Linked DNA regions of Homo sapiens: region 2 is linked to region 1. The links are contacts of gene promoters, found by promoter capture Hi-C in blood cells and fetal thymus (Javierre and others, 2016). All regions are on one chromosome and are shown on one strand. The core of a region is centred on a gene start or on the middle of the fragment in contact, and the rest is flanking DNA. Distances in the headings are between cores, read along the strand shown.

Region 1 (3,390 bases), core at 571-3,070:
GAACTCGAGCGTGTGGCTGCGCTGCGCCGACAGCTGAATCTGCAGCCGGTAGGGCTGCTTGCCGATGCGCAGCTCGCCGCCGATCTTGAACTCGCGCTTGCCGTAGCGGCACCAGGCGGCGAAACTCTCCGAGTTGCGCCAGCTCAGCTCGCGCTCCTTGGCACCCACGTGCGCCAGCGCGTTGCGCACCACGGCGCTGGAGCTTAGCGGCTTGTAGCGGTACAGATCGTTGACCACGCGGCCGCGACGGCCCTGGCTGGCGTCAGTCAGGAAGCTGTTAATCACCTCCAGCCGGTGCAGGTGCACCACCTGGAAGTTACCCACATATACGGCCCAGTGCGGGTACTGAGCCTGCGACACGAACTCCACCAGATCGCCCGGCTTGCACTTGTTGAGCAGGTTCTCGGGCGTGTAGGTACTCAGCGCCGCCGAGCCCGGCGCGAAGCTCTTCTGGTAGATGCATTCGTCCCGGTAGAACACGGAGCATTCCACCTCGTGCAGCCGCGGATCGTAGGGCTGCGGCTGGGGCGGCGGCGGCCCGTCCCCACCGTCGGGCAAGCCGCCGCCATCTGGCCCCTGAGGCGGCGGCTGCGGCTCCACGTCCTCATCGTCATTGGAGAAAATGTAGGAGACCCCAATGCGGGGCCCGTCGTCCCGGTCCACGCCAGTCGGGTCGGCCGTGGGAACTTCCTTGTAACTTAGGTGGGTCAATTTCTCCACCTGGTTGCCCATCACGCTGCGGACACACGTTCACACCGCCGCAAGGGGAGAAAGCGAAACCAACTCCAGGGTCATTTGCACAGGTCCCCGGACAGGGGCTGAGGCTACCTGTTGGGAGAGGAAGGCAAGAAAGCCATGCAGGAGCCCCTCCGTGAAAAGGGCGTTTTGTTCCGAAAAAGAATCGGTGGGGGCTCAGCACCTGGAGCCATTTTAGGGGGAAGTCTCGGGTGTAGCGAGCTTTCCCTCGTTTCTCCACCTGTAAGGTCACGGTCACAGGAGACTGGGCAACTCCTGTTCTCCCTGTCCCCAGCCCTTCGCCTGGCCCTGGCAAAAGCCCATTGCATCAGCAGCTTCTACTGCTTCCGCCTGCGCCCTACCTGCCAAGCTTGGGCAGGAAGAGGGAAGGAAAGAGAAACTTTACGCCAATCCCCCCCCTCCTCTGCTAACTTCCCCTCCCACCCTCGGGCCCTAACTAGCCCCGGGGACGCCTCCTCCCCACCAACGCATCCATCCCCAGAGGAACAAGCGAGGATCTCAGAGCGCGACCTGGACAGGTGAGTCACCCTACCTGGCTCACCTGCAGCGCTACCTCCTCCCGGCTCGCCCGCCCTTCCCCCGCGCCCGCCCTCAGGCTCGGGTTACCTGCACAAACTCACCCGCGGAGAGGTGAAGGCCGTGGGGCCTGGGGAAGGGCTCCCTGCCGCGCCCCGAGACTTCTAGGGCGAGTTTGAAGGTGTAGGCTCGGCAGTCCCTCCTCTCCCGGCGCGGGCGGCAGCGAGGCTGGGCAGAGGGCAGCGCAGCGGGCAGACTAGGGGCATGTCTTTCCCCCGCGGCTGCGTAGCGCCCCGATACTTGAAGGCGGGGGGCAATCCCTGTTCACACCGCGCTTCCTCCCGCCAGCTGGGGCTGCTGCCCCTCCTCAGCCAGCTCTCGGGGGAGGTGGGGCGCGAGGAGGAGAGGACGGCAGCCTCGCAGCCTGGCGGCAACAGCTCCCGCTTGGGCCGGGCGAGCAACAAGCACCGGAGCTGGAGGGACGGGATTGTAGATCCGGCTCCGGGCTCCCGGGCGGGAGCGCAGCCCGTGGCATTTAAAGAGACAGGCGCTCACTCCCCGAGCTCGGGTCTTTTTCACATTGCGCCGAGCGGCCGGGAGCCCCGCCCCCGCCCCGCCCACTCGGGCCTCGGGACTCCGCCCGGCCACGCCCCCGCGCCGGAGCGGGTTTAAATCCCCCTGTAAATAATCCACCCGCCGCCTGGGGCTGGTGCTGTGAGCTCTGCTTGCCTTCCGAGACAAGTTAGAAGGCAAACACAACTTGCCAGTGTGGAAATGAGAAAGGGAAGGAGAGTTTGGTGTTTGCGCCTTTTCCCTTTGACCTGTTTTTTCCCAGAGTACCTGGAGAAGGAGGAACAGTCGTTTCTTTTCTTTCCTGGAACATATTTCTTGCCCTAAAGGTCACAAGAAAGGATTCTTCACCAGGACAGCTCGAAGAGTGCGTCATCCTAGAGGTGTTTTCAGAGTTAGTAGTGGGAAACTTTGGGGTAGAAAAGAAAATCGCAGAAAAGAAACAGTATAAAACAGAACGAAGACTTATTCACTGACTGGGTCCCAAGACCACCGCTCTGTTTATTAGATACCCCTGGAAGTTAGTACAAAGTTCATAACCTCCGTTATTTCCAGAGAGGTACCAGTTCGTTGGATAGTGAGAGAAGCGTGCAGCTCTGACTGCTTTTTTTTGGGGGGGTGGGGGGTTAGGGGATGTAGGAATTGCCTAATTCCTACATCCTAATTCTAATTGTCCTTAAATTAGAAACAAATTAGCAGAGGCCCTAGTGGATATATTTCCTTCCTGTTGACTTAGGGAAGTGACAGGAGACCAGTAATGCCTACTAACCTCCACCACAAAAGGACACTTCCACCTCTCCACTGGTTTCGTTTCTTTTACCTAAATGTAGGCTACCAAAGTGTTTTTTTTGTTGTTGTTGTTGTTTATTTTTTTAAAATAATGGGTCCGGTGAGGGTGGAGGATTAACAGCTCTGTTTACAATAAACAAGTTTAGGCACTACTGCAAGCACCCAGACTTATTCGTAGGGGACTTAAGAATGCGATTCAAGACCTATATTCTGTCTTCAGTTGCTTTCTTTTGACTAATTTTTTCCAGCATGTATAACCAGCCAGTGGAAACAGGAATATACTAGCACTACTGTGATCCTTTCTAGTTTAGGAGAAAAAAATAAAAATCATTCTACTTATGTAATTTTGAGTCCAAACAATCAATATTGGCAGGGCTGTGATAGAAATTAGTCCTTCAGCAAGTCTGAAGTATAAGTTAGATCAACATGAGACTACTGTGTGCTGTGCGATTCTGTTTCAATAATTTCAGACTGGCTGGCCTCAGGCGCATGTGACTGAATGAATCCAACACACCCCAGTCCTTTTGATAGCAAATGGTGTGGGGGGCTGCTGTTACCTGAGTGATATTTGTTGCCATCATATGATCACCATATTATAGACAAGAGTTAGGCTTATAGAGATTATGGCTGGTCATCCTATGTTCATCAGATTGGGAGACCTCTGCTACTGCCTGATTTGGGAGGCCACTTTGCTCCTAGGTGCTACTGGGATGGCTGGGAATGGGAGAATTGAACTGAGAGGACACAGTTGTAGGACAA
Region 2 (3,642 bases), core at 604-3,103, 630 kb before region 1:
CTATTTTGTTATAAATCCTTTCACTTAAAGTCACAGTTTTCAAGAACCTGTGGATGACATCGAGGACTTGTTGTATTTTCAATTCGTCCTCTTGTTTAATCCACATTATTACTCCATGGAGTAGATACAGTAATTTTTATTTATATTTCATATATGAGACTCAGTTATTGAGTAGGGGGAAGGTATAACCCAAGACTTCTGACTTGGATTCTAATGCTCTTTCTTTCACCCTCTACCTCATTTGGAGGTCTAAAAATTGGAAAACAAGACAAAGAGGATATAAAAGATAGTGTAAGACTTTTCTTACATAAAAAAAAAAGAGTCAGAAACAAAACCTTCATTTTTCAATGTGAAGGAAGTTTTTTTTGTGTGTTTTTGTTTTGTTTCCCCATGGTTTTGAGTTTTCCAACTTTCTTGCTTTCCCTCCTGGGCTAAAAATCCCATAAATTTCCTTCAACTGATTTCCAGCTCAATTATGCAAACTCAAGAGACTTGTGTAGCTTGAATGCATTAGAAGATAACCCTTAATTAGTGATGCTTGGGTGAAATCCTCAGGCATTGGTATCTCATTTGTTTTACTGGGGCTCTGGTATTTTACTTAAAGGATCAGCAGTGTGTAATAACAAGGTGAATTATGTGGTCATGACCTGAAACTCATTATGATTATCATAAAACTTTTGATTCTTTCCCCTTCCTTTGCCAAAGTCCTTGGAATAGGGGAATAACTTAGAATGTAAAACCACTGTGCCTCCAGATCTTTCTGACACAAATTCACTCCACAAATATTATCTATGCATGATCATAAAGCAATGATACTTCTTTTCTTTTGTCTAGGATGTGGTTATAAGGCACTTTGTTCACTAAAGTAGGACATGGATGACTGGAGGTGTCAGAAACAGGAATGGTACCTGCCCAAGGAAGGAGGGAAAGCTGGGGTGGACAGATGGCTGGTATACCTGGGATCTGATAGGGAAGGGCTAGACAGGTGGCTGGTACAGCTGGGATCTGAGTTTAACAGAAGTGCACAGGGATCTACTCAGAGGAAATGATTGAAAAGCCTGTGGGTTAACTGCATCAGGGACAACTGTCCACAAATCATGAAGCCCCAGTATCTGAGCTGAGTTGAAGGGCAGAGAGGAAAAGAAGTTAGGAAGGGCAAAGAAAAACAGGACAGTTTTATAGGAGTTAGATGCTTGAAACAAGAATTTGAAACAAGCTCAAGGAACATGTCAGAGATTCAGTTAACTGGAGTGGAGAATGAGATCCTGGCAGAACCAGTAGCGAATATTTCTTTATTCTGTATCTATGTATTAGACAAAACCTGCTCATATCACATCACAGGTAAGAGTAAATTTATCCATTAAATTCACAAAGGCTTTTTGAGCACTTATCATGTTTGTAGTAGGTGATGGGAATTCAACAGATGAAACAGAAAGGCATCCTGCTGTCAGGCAGTTTATATCCTAATGGAGGGCTAGAGACAATAAACATAATAAATAGTTGAAGTTAAATAGAGATGACATTTAGTATGTAAAAGGTATTGTGTAATGTGAAAAACGGGTTTAGGATAAACAATATTGAGAGTGCTAGGTGTTCAATCAAAATGAATGCAGACTTAGGTAAATGGAAACTTTAGTTAAACAGCAGGGAGAATGCTTCCATCTCAGAAATCTCAAGTGTCTCAAAGTCAAACAGAAGAGGACATATCTTTTGGAGAGAGGGAGAGGTAAAACTGACAGGGAAGTTTGTAGGGGCAAAAGGCAAGAGGGCAGGGTAAGAAGGTGGCAAAATCAGGTTGCTTCAGCAGAGAAATGTTTTTCTTTGTGGTCGGCTGATTCTCGGAATGAGTGTTGAGGAGGATATTCTGCACCTGAGGTGCTTAGTGCTTATTTAAACTTGAGGGCAAGTCAAAATGTAGGGGCCTGTAGGGAGGGGAGAAGTCTGGCTGAAGTTTGGTCAAGCCAACGTTAATGGGCAATGGTGAGCCCTTGATCACCAAGGAGACTGTTTATGTGTCATATTCAGTAGAGTGGTCCAGGAAGAGCTCATTGAGAAGGTGACATAATAGCAGAGTTGAAGTAAGTGAGAGAGCAAAGTCTAGAAAGCTGTGAGGAAGCAAAACATGCTGATATCAAGAGAAAAGCATTTTAGGCAGAGGGAAAAGCTACTGCAAGCACTGAGGTAAGAGTGCAGCTGTTGTGTTTGAAGAATAGGATTTTCCAGAGACTTCCCTGATAATATCTTCTATCCCACATGCTCCTTTGCAATGTGACCTTGCCATGTTACCATGAGCAAGTGGAGTTTATTACTCCATGCCCTCAAATCCTGGCAGGACTGGTAACTGCTTTAACCAGTAGAATATGGTAGAAGTGTTGATGGGCCAGTTCCAAGCATAGTCTTTAACTGGCTTGGCAATTTCTACTTCCTGCCTCCTATAACACTTGCTCTTGGGACTCTGACCCTCAGAACACTGAATGCCATAGCTGCTATGCTATAAGAAGCCCAAGGCATGTGGAAAGGCCATGGCCAGAGGCATGTAGGTGCTCTTGTCCACAATCCCAGCTCAGCTCTCAGCATCAACTGTCAGTCACTGGAGTGAGCAAGCTACCGTGGACATCAGCCCATGGATCCTTCAGATGACTTCAGACTCAGCTGACATTGGACTGTAACCACACAAGAAGCCTTAAAGCACAAATGCCCAGTTGAAGTCAGTTAATCCACAGACCCAATAGAGAATATAACAAATTGTTTTAAACTGCTTAATTCTGGGTGGCTTGTTATGGAGCAATAGATAACTAAAATAAATAAAAAGGAGAACATGGTAGCTAGAGGAATGTGAGCAAGAGGGAAATTAGCAGGAGATGAAGTCAGAGAGGACTTGGGAAGTTCAATAGGATATTTTCTTGTAATAACTTTGAGTTTTGCTTTGAGTGAAAGAGAGAGCTGTTCTGGGGTTGTGAAAGAGGAGTGCCATGATCTGACTTCCATTCTAAAAGGAGCCCTCTGGCTGCCATGTGGGGAATAAACTGTGCATACTTTGGTAACAATTCAGGTAAACAATGGTAAAGGGGTGGGAGATGAGAAGGTGTTGCTGTCTGTAAATATTTTGAAAGTAGAGCACAACAGTGTTTCCTCACAGATTGAGATATAAGAGATGAGATTGCCAATAATGTTTGAGATACTAGAAAAGGATGTGTCCATTTTGAACTGAGATGGAGAATACTGCTGGAAGGCAGGCTCAAGGAAGAAGACTAGGGGTATATTCGTTAGAAACACTGTTGGCCTTCTCAGTGGAAACATCAAGTAGGCAACAGGATACCATAACTTTGGAGCTGGTGAAGGTGTCAAGGTTGAAGATGTAAATACGGGAGTCAGCAACATGTGGGATTTTTAAAGTCATGAATTAATGAGATCCCCTAGGGAGTGAATGTAGTTAAGAGAAGAGAAGAAGACTGACTGATCCCTAACACTTTGCAGATAAAGCAACTGGGAGGAGACAAAAAATTAGCAAATTAGACTGAGAAGAAACAGTCAGTGACATAGGAGAAAAACCAAGACAAGGAATGTGCTGGAAATCAAGCAAAGGGAACATTTTTAGTAGGAAGAAGTTATCAGCTGGATCAAAAGCATTTAGGTCAAGTA

Evidence for each region. The method cuts DNA at HindIII sites, captures the fragments that hold promoters and counts their contacts. A CHiCAGO score of 5 or more calls a contact.
Region 2: a contact is called between a fragment that was not itself captured here and the fragment with the promoter of LRATD2 in region 1, in 2 of 17 cell types (M1 macrophages and M2 macrophages). The highest score is 6.0, in M1 macrophages.

The regions. Positions count from the first base shown.
Region 1 is chr8:126,556,658-126,560,047 of GRCh38, forward strand. It overlaps LRATD2 (LRAT domain containing 2), which reads right to left and starts at 1,821. Exons shown (of 2, transcript NM_174911.5): 1 at 1,377-1,821; 2 at 1-828. The coding sequence starts at 732. LOC105375751 (a long non-coding RNA gene) reads left to right here and starts at 1,219. Exons shown (of 6, transcript NR_188069.1): 1 at 1,219-1,274. RefSeq lists enhancers at 96-245, 1,223-2,059 and a silencer at 1,774-1,953. The HindIII fragment of the contact is 2,746 bases long and covers 1,104-3,390 here.
Region 2 is chr8:125,928,702-125,932,343 of GRCh38, forward strand. All of the region lies in intron 3 of LINC00861 (long intergenic non-protein coding RNA 861), which reads right to left. Among named protein-coding and RNA genes, the nearest start is that of LINC00861, 21 kb to the right of the region's middle. The HindIII fragment of the contact is 4,485 bases long and covers 1-3,642 here.